2 separate regions of the Homo sapiens genome follow, and region 2 is linked to region 1. The links are contacts of gene promoters, found by promoter capture Hi-C in human tissues and cell types (Jung and others, 2019). All regions are on one chromosome and are shown on one strand. The core of a region is centred on a gene start or on the middle of the fragment in contact, and the rest is flanking DNA. Distances in the headings are between cores, read along the strand shown.

Region 1 (7,265 bases), core at 3,291-5,790:
GGCATCTACTTCCCTCATTAAATGTCCCTTTCCGATGCCACCAAAGGAAGGATTACATGACATCTGACCTAAAGATAATAGACATAAACAAAATAAATATATGAGCACCTTGCACATAGTGACTACTTAATAAGGAAACATTTATACAGGTGACTATAATCATCTCATATGATAAAAAATAGAAAACGTGAAAGATATACTACAAAGAAAATCCCAAAGACCCAATGGGATGCAAAAGTGTCCAGGGCAACCTGGATGACAAACCACTTCCTGAACTTCCTTTTGTTTTTTTTAAGATGGAGTCTCACTCTGTCACCCAGGCTGGAGTGCAGTGGTACAATCTCGGCTCACTGCAACCTCTGCCTCCTGGGTTCAAGCGATTCTCCTGCCTCAGCATCCCGAGTAGCCGGGATTACAGGTGTCCGGCACCACGCCTGGCTAATTTTTGTATTTTTGGTAGACGGGTTTCACCATGTCGACCAGGCTGGTCTCAAACTCCTGACCTCAGGTGATCTGCCCACCTCGGCCTCCCAGAGTGCTGGGATTACAGCCGTGAGCCACCGCGCCCGGCCTGAACTTTCTTTTGAATCTCTTCCTTGATGCATATTTTTACTGTTTCACTAGGTTGCCTTTTCCTTTCAAACATGTAATCCTTACCCCATGAAACCTTTCTAAACCAAGTATACTTGGTTTTTAAATTTGTTCTTTTTTGATACAGCACCAGAGGAATCTACCAAATCAAGCACACTTGTAAGAAGTCCCTAGTCCTTCAACATAAATAAGGACAAAAATAAATAAATAAATAAAAAACAGGGCCGGGTGTGGTGGCTCACGCCTGTAATCCTAGCACTTTGGGAGGCCAAAGAGGGTGGATTGCTGGAGCTCAGAAGTTTGAGACCACCCTGGGCGACACGGTGAAACCCCGTCTCTACTAAAATACAAAAAAATAGCCAGGCATGGCAGTTTGCACCTGTAATCCCAGCTACTTGGGAGGCTGAGGCAAAAGAATCGCTTGACCCTGGGAGGCTGAGGTTGCAGTGAGCCGAGATGGCACCATCGCACTCCACCCTGGGTGACAACAGTGACTCCATCTCAAAAAAAAAAAGAAAAGAAAAAAGAAAAAACAAAGAAGCCCCTTGGCACTGGTTCAGTTACAACCAATTATGTCTTCCATAAATGCCATCTGATATCTCCTTTTTGCACTTACTTTGCAGAATTAAATATAATTAAATTACAAATTTCTTGTGAGTGAAGACCATATTTTATACCTTTCCCTTACATTTACCCAGTCTTACCTGGAGGTCTAAACCCATGTGGTTACCTCAAAAGTTTTTGTGGGAGGTGGAGGGATGGGCAAGTTATGTCAATATCCACATATCCACTGCCACCACATCAAGAATCAAGACCTCCAAAAGTTTTTTTTTTTTTTTTTTTTTTTTTTGAGACAGAGTTTCGCTCTTGTTGCCCAGGCTGGAGTGCAATGGCACGATCTCAGCTCACTGCAACCTCCACCTCCCGAGTTCAAGTGATTCTCCTGCCTCAGCCTCCCAAGTAGCTGGGATTACAGGCATACGCCACCACGCCTGGCTAATTTTCTTTCTTTTTTTTTTTTTTTTTAGTATTTATTGATCATTCTTGGGTGTTTAATTTTCTATTTTTAATAGAGACAGGGTTCCTCCATGTTGGTCAGGCTGGTCTCGAACTTCCGACATCAGGTGATTTGCCCGCCTTTGCCTCCCAAACTGCTGGGATTACAGGCATGAGCCACCATGCCCAGACAAGACCTCCACAAGTTTTAATGGTCTCCACAGGGAGACTGGATAGCACTGTGATTATGAGCATGAAGTGTCATTATGAGGAGTGTGTGTGAAAGAGATATCTGGCTCAATTTCTAGACCTACCACTTATGAGCTCTGTGATCATGGCAAGTTACCTAACATACCTTAGTCTCTCTACTGTAAAAACAGGAATGACAGCTGTGGTAGATTATTTTCCTCCTTCTTCCTTTGAAATAGAAGACTCCTGGGCTCCCCAAATGCTGGGATTACAAGCGTGAGTAATCACCCCTGGCCTAGGTCTTTATTTTATTATTATTTTTTAAAAATATGGAACACTTCACAAATTTGTGCATCATCCTTGTGCAGGGGCTATGCTAATCCCTATATCATTCCAACTTTAGTTTATGTTGTTGCCAAAGCAAGCACTAGGTCTTTATTTTTTAAAAATATAAACAACAGGCCAGGTGTGGTGGCTCACACCTGTAATCCCAGCACTTTGGGAGGCTGACACGGGTGGATCACCTGAAGTCAGGAGTTGGAGACCAGCCTGGCCAACATGATGAAACCCCATCTCTACTAAAAATACAAAAAATTAGCTGGGCGTGGTGGCAGACTCCTCTAATCCCAGCCACTTGGGAGGCTGAGGCAGGAAATCGCTTGAACCCGGGAGGTGGAGGTTGCAGTGAGCCAAGATCGCGCCACTGCATTCTAGCCTGGTCAACAACAGCAAAACTCTGTCTCAAAAATGAAAGAAAAGAAAAGAAAAAACCCACCTGAATGTATGATGAGAAAAGTATAATCTTTTAGGAAATCATATAGCCTCCTCTCCCCCACCCACAAAACCGCAGTTAATAGTATATATTTCTTCACAGTTATGAGCTGAATGGTTATTTTAAAGAAGAATTTCAGGAATAAATAAGTGATTTATTCACAACTTTTACAAAACAAGTAAATATTCTAATTACTGCTCGCTCCTAAGCAAAAGGAAGGAGGAAAGACAAAAGTATACATAATTTACAAGTTGATGTTTTAGCTAGTATCTATCATGATGCTACAGAACGGCCATCCAACCATTACCCATTAGAGCAAAAAAAGTACTGTCCAGTACTAAACACAAAATCCAGGGACGACAACCCAGAAGGAATATAGGATGCAAAAGGTAGCATGGCGCTGGGCACGGTGGCTCATGCCTGTAATCCCAGCATTTTGGGAGGCCGAGGCGGGCGGATCACAAGGTCAGGAGATCGAGACCATCCTGGCTAACATGGTGAAACCCCGACTCTACTAAAAATACAAAGAAAAAAAAAATTAGCCGGGCGTGGTGGTGGGTGCCTGTAATCCCAGCTACTCGGGAGGCTGAGGCAGGAGAATGGCATTAACCCGGAAGGCGGAGCTTGCAGTGAGCCGAGATGGCGCCACTGCACTTGAGCCTGTGTGACAGTGCAAGACTCTGTCTCAAAAGAAAAAAAAAAAAAAAAGGTAGCATGGTTCTTCCAAAAGGCATCACAAAATCTTGACAGAAACACAAAGATCAGGCTGGGCAGAGTACTGAGCACCTGCAATCCCAGCTACTGGTTAGGCAGAGGCAGGAAAAGTTCTTGAGTCCAGAAAGCGGAGCCTGTAATGTGCAACGATCGTGCCTATGAGTAGTCACTGCACTCCAGCCTGGGCAACATGGCGAGACCCTGTCTCTAAAAAAATGTTTTTAAATAAAAACACAAGAACCGTTTAATAAAGGATTTTTTTATTTTATTAATATTATCATTATTTTGAGACGGAGTTTTGCTCTTTTGCCCAGGCTGGAGTGAAGTGGCGCAATCTCGGCTCACTGCAACCTCTGCCCCCGGGTTCAAGCGATTCTCCTGCCTCAGACTCCCGAGTAGCTGGGATTATAGGCGCCCGCCACCATGCCCGGCTAATTTTTGTATTTTTAGTAGAGACGGGGTTTCGCCGTGTTGGCCAAGCTGGTCTCAAACTCCTGACCTCAGGTGATCCACCTGCCTTGGCATCCCAAAGTGCTGGGATTAAAGAAGTGAGCCACTGCACCTGGCCATAAACCATTGTTAATAATGTTAATTCACCCTTTATCTGGAGTAACATAGTAGAAGGTAAACGCAGCAATGAACTAAGAAGCTACCAGCGAGTAGTTGGTAGCTCCCTTTCCCAAGGCACTGACCCCGAACCCCAACCTCCTACAACGGACGACTGTCAGCAGCAGCATAATCTATGGTTCGCAGAATAGACTAATATAGAGTTCTGGCCTGGCCCGCCTGATCCTTGCGAGACACTGATCGAGGCTAAAACCACAGAAGGTAGGATTCTCACTAGCTTTGAGGAAAGGAAGAGGTCCCCCGCTTCAGACCGGGGGAGGCGGGAAGGAAGCAGCCTGCGTCCTACGCCAAGTTCCACAGCACCCGCGCTCCTCACCGATCGTGTCCACGCGGTGAGTGAGGAGCAGAGTCCGAGAGCCGCACCGAGCGGCGGCGGTGGCTGCCTCAGTCCCGGCATGTCCTCCACCAATGACTATCACGTCGAAGTGCGGAGTCCGGGGCGCCGCGCTGTCACTGCTCAACCGTGCCAACGGAAATTGCTGCTTGGTGAAGGAAACCGCGACCCAACGGCCACAGCCTCGGAAGTAGAACATGCTGGGAGAAAAATCTATCTGACTTTGAAGCTGACACGAGTGACGGTCAAAAAAACTTACGCAACAAGAGACAATCTGCAGGGCGCGGCCATCTTGCTTTAATATCACGGGGTAGGACGTCTACGTCCAGCGTCGCCGCTGATTGGCGGTTTGGAGCTACTTTCCTGGTGAGGGAGATGGGTGATCGCACGGAGGGCCGGTTGTGTATTTTCTTTCCTAGTTCGTGCGGGCTTTTTTTATTATTATTATTTTTTATTTTTATTTATTTATTTATTTATTTATTTATTTATTTATTTATTTATTTATTTATTTATTTATTTTGAGACAGAGTCTCGCTCTGTTGCCCAGGCTGGAATGCAGTGGCGCGATTTCGGCTCACTGCAAGCTCCCCCTCCCGGGTTCGCGCCATTCTCCTGCCTTAGCCTCCGAGTAGCTGGGGCTACAGGCGCCCGCCACTACGCCCGGCTAATTTTTTGTATTTTTAGTAGAGACTGGGTTTCACCGTATTAGCCAGGATGTTCTCGATTTCCTGACCTCGTGATCCGCCCGTGCGGGCTTTTTTTGATTTCCTGTGGTTCTGGGTTGGGAGCTCCTACTAAAGGTCATCTTTTGTACTTTCTTAGGCCCTGCAGTCCTTATCGCCAGGTGGCCACCTACGATCAATGAATTTGATCACTTTGCCTTATCAGATCTTTGTGATCTGACAATCTGATACACCGTCACCTTCTGTTTGTCTATAAAAACTAAGGGCTGAAAATAAGAATAGATTCGGGCCGGGCGCGGTGGCTCACGCCTGTATTCCCAGCACTCTGGGAGGCCGAAGCAGGTGGATCACAAGGTCAGGAGATGGAGACCATCCTGGTCAACATGGTGAAACCCCATCGCTACTAAAAAAAAAAAAAAAAAAAAAAAAAAAAAAAATTAGCCGGGAGTGGTGGCATGCACCTGTAATCCCAGCTACTCAGGAGACTGAGGCAGGAGAATCGCTTGAACCTGGGAGGCCGAGGTTGCAGTGAACCAAGATTGTGCCACTGCACTCCAGCCTGGGCGACAGAGCAAGACTCCGTCTCAAAAAAAAAAAAAGAAAAAGAAAAGAAAAAGAATAGATTCGAAAGGAGTTCAAATATATTTGTGGACTGAAAGATTCATGATGGTGCCTGGGCATGGTGGATCACGCCTGTAATCCTAGCACTTTGGAAGGCCGAAGGGGGCAGATTGCCTGAGCTCAGGAGTTCGAGACCAATCTGGGCAACATGGTGAAACCCCGTCTGTACTAAAATACAAAAAAAAAAATTAGCCAGGTGTGGTGGCATGCACCTGTAGTCCCAGCTACTTGGGCGGCTGAGGCAGGAGAATTGCTTGAACCCGTAGGCAGAGGTTGCAGTGAGCCGAGATCGTGCCACTGCACTCCAGCCTGGCGACAAGAGTGAGACTCTGTCTCAAAAAAAAAAAAAAGAGAGAGAGAGATTCATGATGGCTAATTGGTTAATTAGAAGAATCGGTTGGTTGGAGGTTAAATGTCCAGCCTTTTGGAATTCACAGCCTTTCTCAATTCACAGCCTTTCTCAGAAAGGCAACGTTTGACTGGAGAATAAAACAAGTGTGGTATTGCAGGATCTGGCCAGCAGCCCACAATGCAATGGGGCTCTTTCTTTGTTCCCAGGCGGATTGGCAGGTCGAGAAATAATAGACACACAGAAGATATTGAAAGCTGGGTCCAGGGGGGTCACTGCCTTCTGGTCCTGCAATGCTGCTAATACACTGGATATACCAGCATTTATTATTAAGTTTAGTGAGGGCAGGGGTAGGTTAGTGAGGGATTTAGGGTCATTTGATTATGAGGTGAGATGGTCACATGGGGATGAAGTAATTCTTTAACATAACATCTGTATGCAGAAGTACAGTATACAGAGATAAGAATTTACAATATATTGTGTGCATCAGTAATTTCTAACAGAGCCTTAAAACAGAAACAGTCTTTCCATAACCTATGATTAGCAAGATATTAATCAGCAGTAACAGTTGCAGCAAAAGCTGGTTACAAACAATCCATAGAAACAGGATGTGAAGCTAGACAATCAGTTAGACCAGAAATTCTCAGAAGGGAGTATGCCTTAACCCTAAAAAGGCCTAGAAGAGCCGTGGCAAGATGAGGGCATTTATAGCCCTATCTTACCCACAGGGACAGGCGCCCCTCATGCGTCCGTTTAGAGGCTTTCCACAAGGGTTGCATTCCATTCCCAGAGCTATGAACATCTGCTTTTCTGGGATAGGAATCTTGGTGATGCACGTCCGTTCATAGGCTCTCTGCAGGGGGAAGCACATCACCCGCTGTTGGCTCATTCTGGCAGTCCAACCTGGCATTCTCTTTACACAATCCTGCATGCAACTTTGTATTTACAATAATCAGGAGCATTTCATCTTTTATTCCGTAGCAATAGTTTCAGGGGTCTCCCTACAGTGTGGCAGTTTTATTGTTCTAATTATAAAAAGTATTAAATACATAGGCCGGGAGTGGTGGCTCACACCTGTAATCCCAACACTTTGGGAGGCCAAGGTGGCGGATCACTTGAGTCCACCAGGAGTTTGAGACCAGCCTGGCCAATATGGCGAAACTCTATCTCTACTAAAAATAGAAAAATTAACCTGGCATGGTGCTGCGTGCCTGCAGTCCCAGCTACTCAGGAGGCTGAGGCAGGAGAATTGCTTGAACCCAGGAGGCACAGGTTGCAGTGAGCCCAGATGGTGCCATTGCACTCAAGCCTGGGTGACTGAGACCCTGTCTCAAAAAAACAAAACAAAAACCCTTAAAACAAAAAACAGTAAACATTATTTCTTTTCTT
Region 2 (7,265 bases), core at 2,594-5,093, 110 kb after region 1:
CCTGGGTTTGAATCTTAACTCAGCTACTTATTAGCTGGGGAACCAGGCATATGTTAGCCTTTGTGCTTCAGTTCTCCACCTGTAATATGGGGATAATTATATCTACCTCATTGGGTTGCAGTGAGGATTAAATGAGATAAGACTATGTCCTAAATCTGCGAAGTATTAAAACAATGTCTGACACAATGGGCATTATTTCTTGAATGTATGAATAATAGGCTACTCTTCCTCTACTGCAGGACTGGAGTAGACTCCTGTATTACAGGTTCTGAGGGAGGAGGGACTCCAGCTTCCAGTCCTATCCTCTAAGGTTCTCATCATTGAAGACTCAGAGGGAGGGCCATGAAAGTCTTGTAAATGCATTGTTTTTCTACCCCCTGGAAGTCCTGGGTGCAGTTTCTGGGACCATTAGATGCCATACCACTTGTGGGTCCCTGAGAAGACAAAGGCACATTTGGCATGCTATTGAGCTTTATTTGGAGTGGAGACCAAGGGATCAGTCACGTACCCTATTGGCATTTTTACCCTCCCCCGTCCCAGCCCTGAGACCTGTGGCTGGAAGGTCCTAGACCACTCAGCCTGGCTCCTGCTCAAGATTTTGAAGGAAGGCCAGGCGTGGTGGCTCACGGCTGTATTCCCAGCACTTTGGGAGGCCAAGGTGGGTGGATGACGAGGTGAGGAGTTCGAGACAACCTGGCCAACATGATGAAACCCCCGTCTCTACTAAAAATACAAAAATTAGCTAGGCGTTGTGGCGGGTGCTTGTAGTCCCAGCTATGTGGAAGTCTGAGGCAGGAGAATCGCTTGAACCTGGGAGGCTGAGGAAGACCGTGCCACTACACTCCAGCCTGGGTGACAGAGAAACTCTGTCTCAAAAAAAAAAAAAAAAAAAAAAAAAGAATTATCTGGGCACAGTGGCACATGCTTGTAGGCCTAACTACTCAAGAGGCTGAGGCAGGAGGTTCGCTTGAGTTCAGGAACTTGGGGTTACAGTGAGCTATGATCGTACCAGTGTACTCCACCCTGGGCGAAAGGAAACTGTCTCAAAAAAAAAAAAATCTAAAATGATAGAAGTCTCCCTCCTATCTCATTTCATATCATACATTTCCTACTTCCCAAAAATAAGCAATATTTTCTTGAATGTCCATTCAAGAGTTTTTAAAAAATATAAGGAATTATACGTGTAGATTATTTTCCCTCCTTTACAGCTGGGTATTATTCAATTTAATTCTCTACAAAATGACTTTTGAGTTTATTCCCAATCTTTTGCTTTTACAAAGATGAGATGAATACTTTGAATAACTTTTTTTTTTTTTTTTGAGACAGTTTTGCTTTTGTCACAGGCTGCAGTGTAATGGCGTGATCTTGGCTCACTGCAACCTCTGCCTCCTGGATTCAAGCGATTCTCCTCCCTCAGCCATCTGAGTAGGTGGGATCACAGGTGTGGGCCACTACGCCCTGCTAATTTTGTATTTTTAGTAGAGATGGAGTTTCACCATATTGGCCAGACTGGTCTCCAACTCCTGACCTCGGGTGATCCACCCGCCTTGGCCTCCCAAAGTGCTGGAATTAACGGTGTGAGCCACTGTGCCCAAAACAATACCACTGTTTTGCAAGTCTGCCAGTAGTATGTCTGTAGGTTAAATTCCCAGAGGGAGAATTGCTGGTCCAAAGGGGAAAAACATAATTTTGCTAAATATTATCATAGAGATTGCCTATTTCCCCATTGCCTCACCCTTTTTTGTTGAATCTGATGAAGTTTCCCTGTCTTTTGTGCTGATAGCTTGAATTTGCTTTATGGACTAACAGTTGGTTGTTAGCACCCTCAGATGACCCTCATCTAGTGCACCCTTCAGAGAATCAGTTGGCCATGAAAGACTCTATGTGGGAATGTAGACCAGATACTTTTGAAACCCCAATTCTGCAGTGTAAATCAAGCACATAAAACTAACAGCCTTGTCCTTTAAGTCTAGAATTCTTTCTCTCTCTCTCTTTTTTTTTTTTGGAAACAGAGTCTCTGTCACTCAGCTGGAATGCAGTGGCATGATCTCGGCTCACTGCAGCCTCTGCCTCCCAGGTTCAAGTGATTCTCTTGCCTCAGCCTCCCCAGTAGCTGGGATCACAGGCATGCACCACCATGTCCAGCTTTTTTTTTTTTTTTTTTTTCTTCAGTATTTGTAGTAGACATGGGTTTTCACCATGTTGGCCAGGCTGGTATTGAACTCAATATCTTAAGCGATCCACCTGCTTTGGCTTCCCAAAGCTCTGAGCGTACAGGTATGAGACACCGTGCCTGGCCTAGAGTTCCCTCTTAAAGGCAGAGTTTCTAAATGCAGAAAACTTTGAGTAGGTATCAATTATGGTAGCAAAAGAGGGAAATTTAAGAATCTGCCATAAATTCCATGCAAGTCCTGGACTGAAAATTTTTCAGCTCCCCTTTCCCAATCCCCCAAACCAAAAATAACAGCAATAAAATACTTTAAGAAAATTCATAGGTAAAATTTTGGAAGTAAAAGTCTGAAGGTGGTTTGCCTTGGAGCGGATTTCTTTCTTTGAGTTTGCAGCTGGTGATCAGCTTTCCACCAAGGTTAAGTGCGACAATTACAGGAAACCTCAAGCTTTCTTGTAATGCAGATGAGAGGGGTCTGCCCTAAGGAGGGTCTGACAATGGGATGGAAGAGTTTTGGAGAGGAGATAAAACAAGTGCTTAGTCCAAGAAAGCCTTTAAATAACAAGCGATAAACACCCAATCAAGTGTAATCCTCCAACCCTAAAGTGGCTAATAATAATAACAATAGCTAACGCTGATTGAGAGCTTCTAGCTCCGCGGGGCTAGAAGCTGGGCTCTTTTATTAACTGAATTCTCAAAATATTCTCATTGTCCATTTAAGGAAATTGAGATCCCACCAATCACACCACCTCCCGGTATTTATGTCTTACATTTAAATGTATACGTGATTTCTTTGGGGGCCCTATGAAATGTTTTTATTTTTAATTTATTTTTTGCGACGGAGTCTCACTCTGTTGCCAGGCTGTAGTGCAGTGGCACGATCTCGGCTCACTGCAACCTCCAACACCCGGGTTCAAGCGATTCTCTTGCGCAGCCTCCCAGGTAGCTGGGATTACAGGCGCGCGCCGGCGTGCCCGGCTAATTTTTGTATTTTGAGTAGAGACCGGGTTTTGCCATGTTGGCTAGGATGGTCTCCAACTCCTAACCTCAGGTGATCCGCCCGCCTCGGCCTCCCAGAATGCTGGGACTACAGGCGTGAGCCACCGCGCCCTTCCGGGCCCTATGAGACTTTTTACCCTTTGGGTGGGCTGATAGAGCGGGAGAGGGGAAGCCAGAGTGGGTGTGGGTGTTCCTCGCAGGGCCCCGCGGGGTCACCTATGCCCAACTCATTCCCAAGTGGGCTCCGAGGCAGGCGCTGTTAGGTCTCCTGGGACTGAAGCCACCTGCAGGGTGGTCTGGAGCAAGTCTCCCAACCTCTGTAGACAGGCGGGCCCTCCGGGAGCTTCCGGTCTGGTTAGGAGCCACATGGATGTAAGAATCCGAGAAATGAACACCGGTGCTGTGCTGGGAGGCTGAAATGTTGGAGACTAGACCTGGGCAGGGAGGTCAGGGACGGTCCCCCAAGGAAGTCACCTTGGGTGAGATCTGAGTGACCGGCAGCAGTGAGCCAGGCGAGGAGGAAGGGAAGTGCAGCCCTGGGAACAGGATGGTGGCTAGGCCAGAAGGTTGAGCCGGCTGGGGCATGGCCGGAACGGGAGCGAGGCAGTTCCCCCCGGGGCCTCGCAGACCTTGCAGAGAGCAAAGGTAACCCATCCAAAGGTTTTGAGCAGGAGGTGACTATGGAACCACCCGGAACCACTCAGATAAGCTGTTTCCCTGTCCCTGGCAGCTAGGATCCTAGGATCAGTTTGGATTCTGATTCTTCTCTAATGGCTCTGCCCTGTCTCTCCACTGTTCCCATCGACTCATTTGTTGAATGGCATTATTGAAATATTTGTTGAAGGTCGGGCGCGGTGGCTCACGTCTGTAATTCCAGCACTTTGGGAGGCTGAGGTGGGCGGATCACGAGGTCAGGAGTTCGAGACCAGCCTAACCAACATAGTGAAACCCCGTCTCTACTAAAAATAGAAAAAAGCTGGGTGTGGTGGAGGGCGCCTGTAATCCCAGCTACTCGGGAGGCTGAGGCAGGAGAATTGCTTGAACCTAGGAGGCAGAGGTTGTGGTAAGCCAAGATTGCGCCACTGTGCTCTAGCATGGGCGACACAGCTAGACTCCTCAAAAAAAAAAAAAAAAAAAAAAAGAAAAAATTTAAATATATATTTGTTGAGTGTCTGCTTTGCTACATACTCAGGAGTGGTGTTTTAGGAAGAAAACAAAAATGACAATGTGGCCCACGAACATTTTCAGGATTTCAGAGACTATTTTCAGAAAACAAGTGTCTGGGGTGTTACTTACATGAAAGAAATTTGGAATATTAAATTGTATGGTAACTAATCAGAGGCAGAAATATTTTTTTCGAGGAGTTATCTGTATGGCACTAGAATTCCAGCGTTGGAATTTGTCCAGAGAGGGGCTGCTGCACCAAGTCTTGTAGCCATTTTGCAATCTCTGCTGCAGAAAGGGAAGGACCAGGTTTTCCAAACTTCACTCCAATTCTCAAAAGCTGGTCTTAGTTTCATGGGATTCCTCTTTTCCTTCTAGCTTCAACAGTCTAAATATTGTTGCATTGGGGATAGATAAGATTTACCCTCATGAAAATGCCAAATTAGCTGACCCTGGGATCACTGCCCATGAGTTAGCCCTGTTCTGCAAGGAGCAGTACTGTAAAACAAAACAAAAGAGCCAAATTAACTACGATCAAACCTTTGTATCCGCTGTTCTGCAACCACGGATTCAACCAACCTCCCATCAAAAATATTCAGAAAGAAAACAATAACAATGCAACAGTAAAGATACAAATAAACCCCAATACAATGTAACTATTTACATAGCATTTGTATTGTTAGTAATCTAGAGATTATTAAAAAGTATAGGGGAGGATGTTTATAGGTTATATGTAAACATGTCATTTTACATTAAGAACTTGAACATCTGTGGATTTTGGTATGGGAGAGGGGGTGCTGAAACAAATCTCTCAGATAGGGAGAGATGACTGTAATATTTCATTGTACCACTATAAAAGGAGAAGAAAATGTGCAACATAGGGCTCCTAGCCTAAACTTCTTTCACAGGCATGGGAATTTAATGGGGACAAGTAGGGCAAAAGAAACAGGAGTATTAGGGCAAAAGAAAATAGGGCTTGGGGTCTGTGGGAGGGAAAAGAACTAAAAAGAGGAACAGATAGACAATTTATCTCTTTTTGAAGCTTTAGTAAATTTTGATGAGAAGAGTCCCAGACCCATCTGTCTTTTAAAGAATACAGATAATCAAGTGCTGGGGTCAGGGGCTATCCCATGTTCAGGATGGTGATTTTGTGGGTGGGGTAGGCTGGCAGAGCCTACTGACATCTGGGTGATGAGAAGATGTTGGTTGGTTAGGATGGCACTTCTCACTCAAGCCCTATAACTTGATTTTCCAAGATTAATGATTACTTAGGATTATTTGATTTACCCCCCTACCCCCAGGTTCCTGTTGTAAACTAAAAATAAAATTGTGGCTCACATCTGTAATCTCAGCACTTTGGGAGGCCAAGGTGGAAGGATTGCTTGAGGCCACGAGTTCTAGACCAGCCTGGGCAGCATAGCAAGACGCGATCTCTACAAAAATTAAGAAATTAGCTGGGTGTGGTGGAACATGCCTGTAGTACCAGCTGCTCAGGAAAGCTGAGATAGGTGGGAGGATTGCTTGAGCCCGGGAGTTGGAAGCTGGCAGTCAGCTCTGATTGTACCACTGCACTCCAGCCTGGGTGATGGAGCAAGAGCCTGTCTCTAAAAAATAAATTAAAAAATAAATTAAAAATGTAAATGTAAGAACTGGTAGAAAAGGCTGGGCGCAGTGGCTCACGCCTGTAATCCCACCACTTTGGGAGGTCGAGGCAGGCAGATCACAAGGTCAGGAGATCGAGACCATCCTGGCTAACACGGTGAAAGCCCTTCTCTACTAAAAATACAAAAAACTAGCCTGGCGTGGTGGCGGGCACCTGTAGTCCCAGCTACTCGGGAGGCTGAGGCAGGAGAATGGCATGAACCCGGGAGGCGGAGCTTGCAGTGAGCTGAGATGGCGCCACTGCACTCCAGCCTGGATGACAATGCAAGACTCTGTCTCAAAAAAAAAAAAAAAAACCTGGTAGAAAAAAATATTTAAATAATAAATTATATAATCAGGCTTCTGTAAACCCAACATCAAAGGCAGAAATCATAAATCAAAATAATACTAGATCAGGGAGCTAAAAAAATTGGAAAGTCCCATTCTTTTTTTATATTTTTAATGTTTTTGAGATGGAGTCTCACTCTGCTGCCCAGGCTGGAGGGCAGTGGCACAATCTCAGCTCACAGCAACCTCCACCTCCCAGTTCAAGCGATTCTCCTGCCTCAGCCTCCTGAGTAGCTGGGATTACAGGTGTGTGTCATCACGCCCAGCTAATTTTTGTATTTTTAGTAGAGGTGGGGTTTCACCATGTTGGCCAGGTTGGTCTCGAACTCCTGACCTCCGGCAATCTGCCTACCTTAGCCTCTCAAAGTGCTGAGATTATAGGTGTAAGCCACCGTGCCTGGCCTCTATTCTTTTAAAAAAGTCAAAATGAGGTGGGGTGAGGGGCAAATCAGCAATATAAGGACGAGCAAGTGGCTAATACATGAGTAGTTAAATAATTCTCACAAATCAGTAAGTAGGCCCAGCGAGGTGGCTCACGTCTGTAATCCCCAGCACTTTGGGAGGCTGAGGCAGGCGGATCACCTGAAGTCAGGAGTTCGAGACCAGCCTGACCAACATGGAGAAACCCCCCTCTCTACTAAAAAATACAAAATTAGCCGGGCATGGTGGCACATGCCTGTAATCCCAGCTACTTGGGAGGCTGAGGCAGGAGAATTGCTTGAACCCAGGAGGCAGAGGTTGCGGTGAGCTGAGATAGCGCCATTGCACTCCAGCCAGGGCAACAAGAGCAAAACTCCATCTCAAAAAAATTCAGGAAGTATATCTTTTTTCTTTTTTTTTTTTTCTTCAGAATCTTGCTCTGTCATCCAGGCTGGAGTGCAGTGGCTCAGTCTTGGCTCACTGCAACCTCCCTGTCTCCTGGTTCAAGTGATTCTCCTGCCTC

The links. The method cuts DNA at HindIII sites, captures the fragments that hold promoters and counts their contacts. A contact is called where the count stands out against the background at its distance.
Region 2: a contact is called between a fragment that was not itself captured here and the fragment with the promoter of MTO1 in region 1, in 2 of the 25 tissues and cell types used here (H1 embryonic stem cells and liver).

What each region holds. Positions count from the first base shown.
Region 1 is chr6:73,459,012-73,466,276 of GRCh38, reverse strand. MTO1 (mitochondrial tRNA translation optimization 1) reads right to left here and starts at 4,540. Exons shown (of 12, transcript NM_012123.4): 1 at 4,206-4,540; 2 at 1-68. The coding sequence starts at 4,422. It also overlaps the pseudogene RNU6-975P. RefSeq lists enhancers at 4,000-4,049, 4,070-4,129, 4,200-4,529, 3,702-4,547 and a silencer at 4,980-5,039. The HindIII fragment of the contact is 26,494 bases long and covers 1-7,265 here.
Region 2 is chr6:73,344,927-73,352,191 of GRCh38, reverse strand. No RefSeq gene overlaps it. Among named protein-coding and RNA genes, the nearest start is that of DPPA5, 5.7 kb to the left of the region's middle. RefSeq lists enhancers at 2,194-2,697, 2,698-3,202, 3,203-3,706, 3,707-4,211 and a silencer at 7,100-7,265. The HindIII fragment of the contact is 6,119 bases long and covers 784-6,902 here.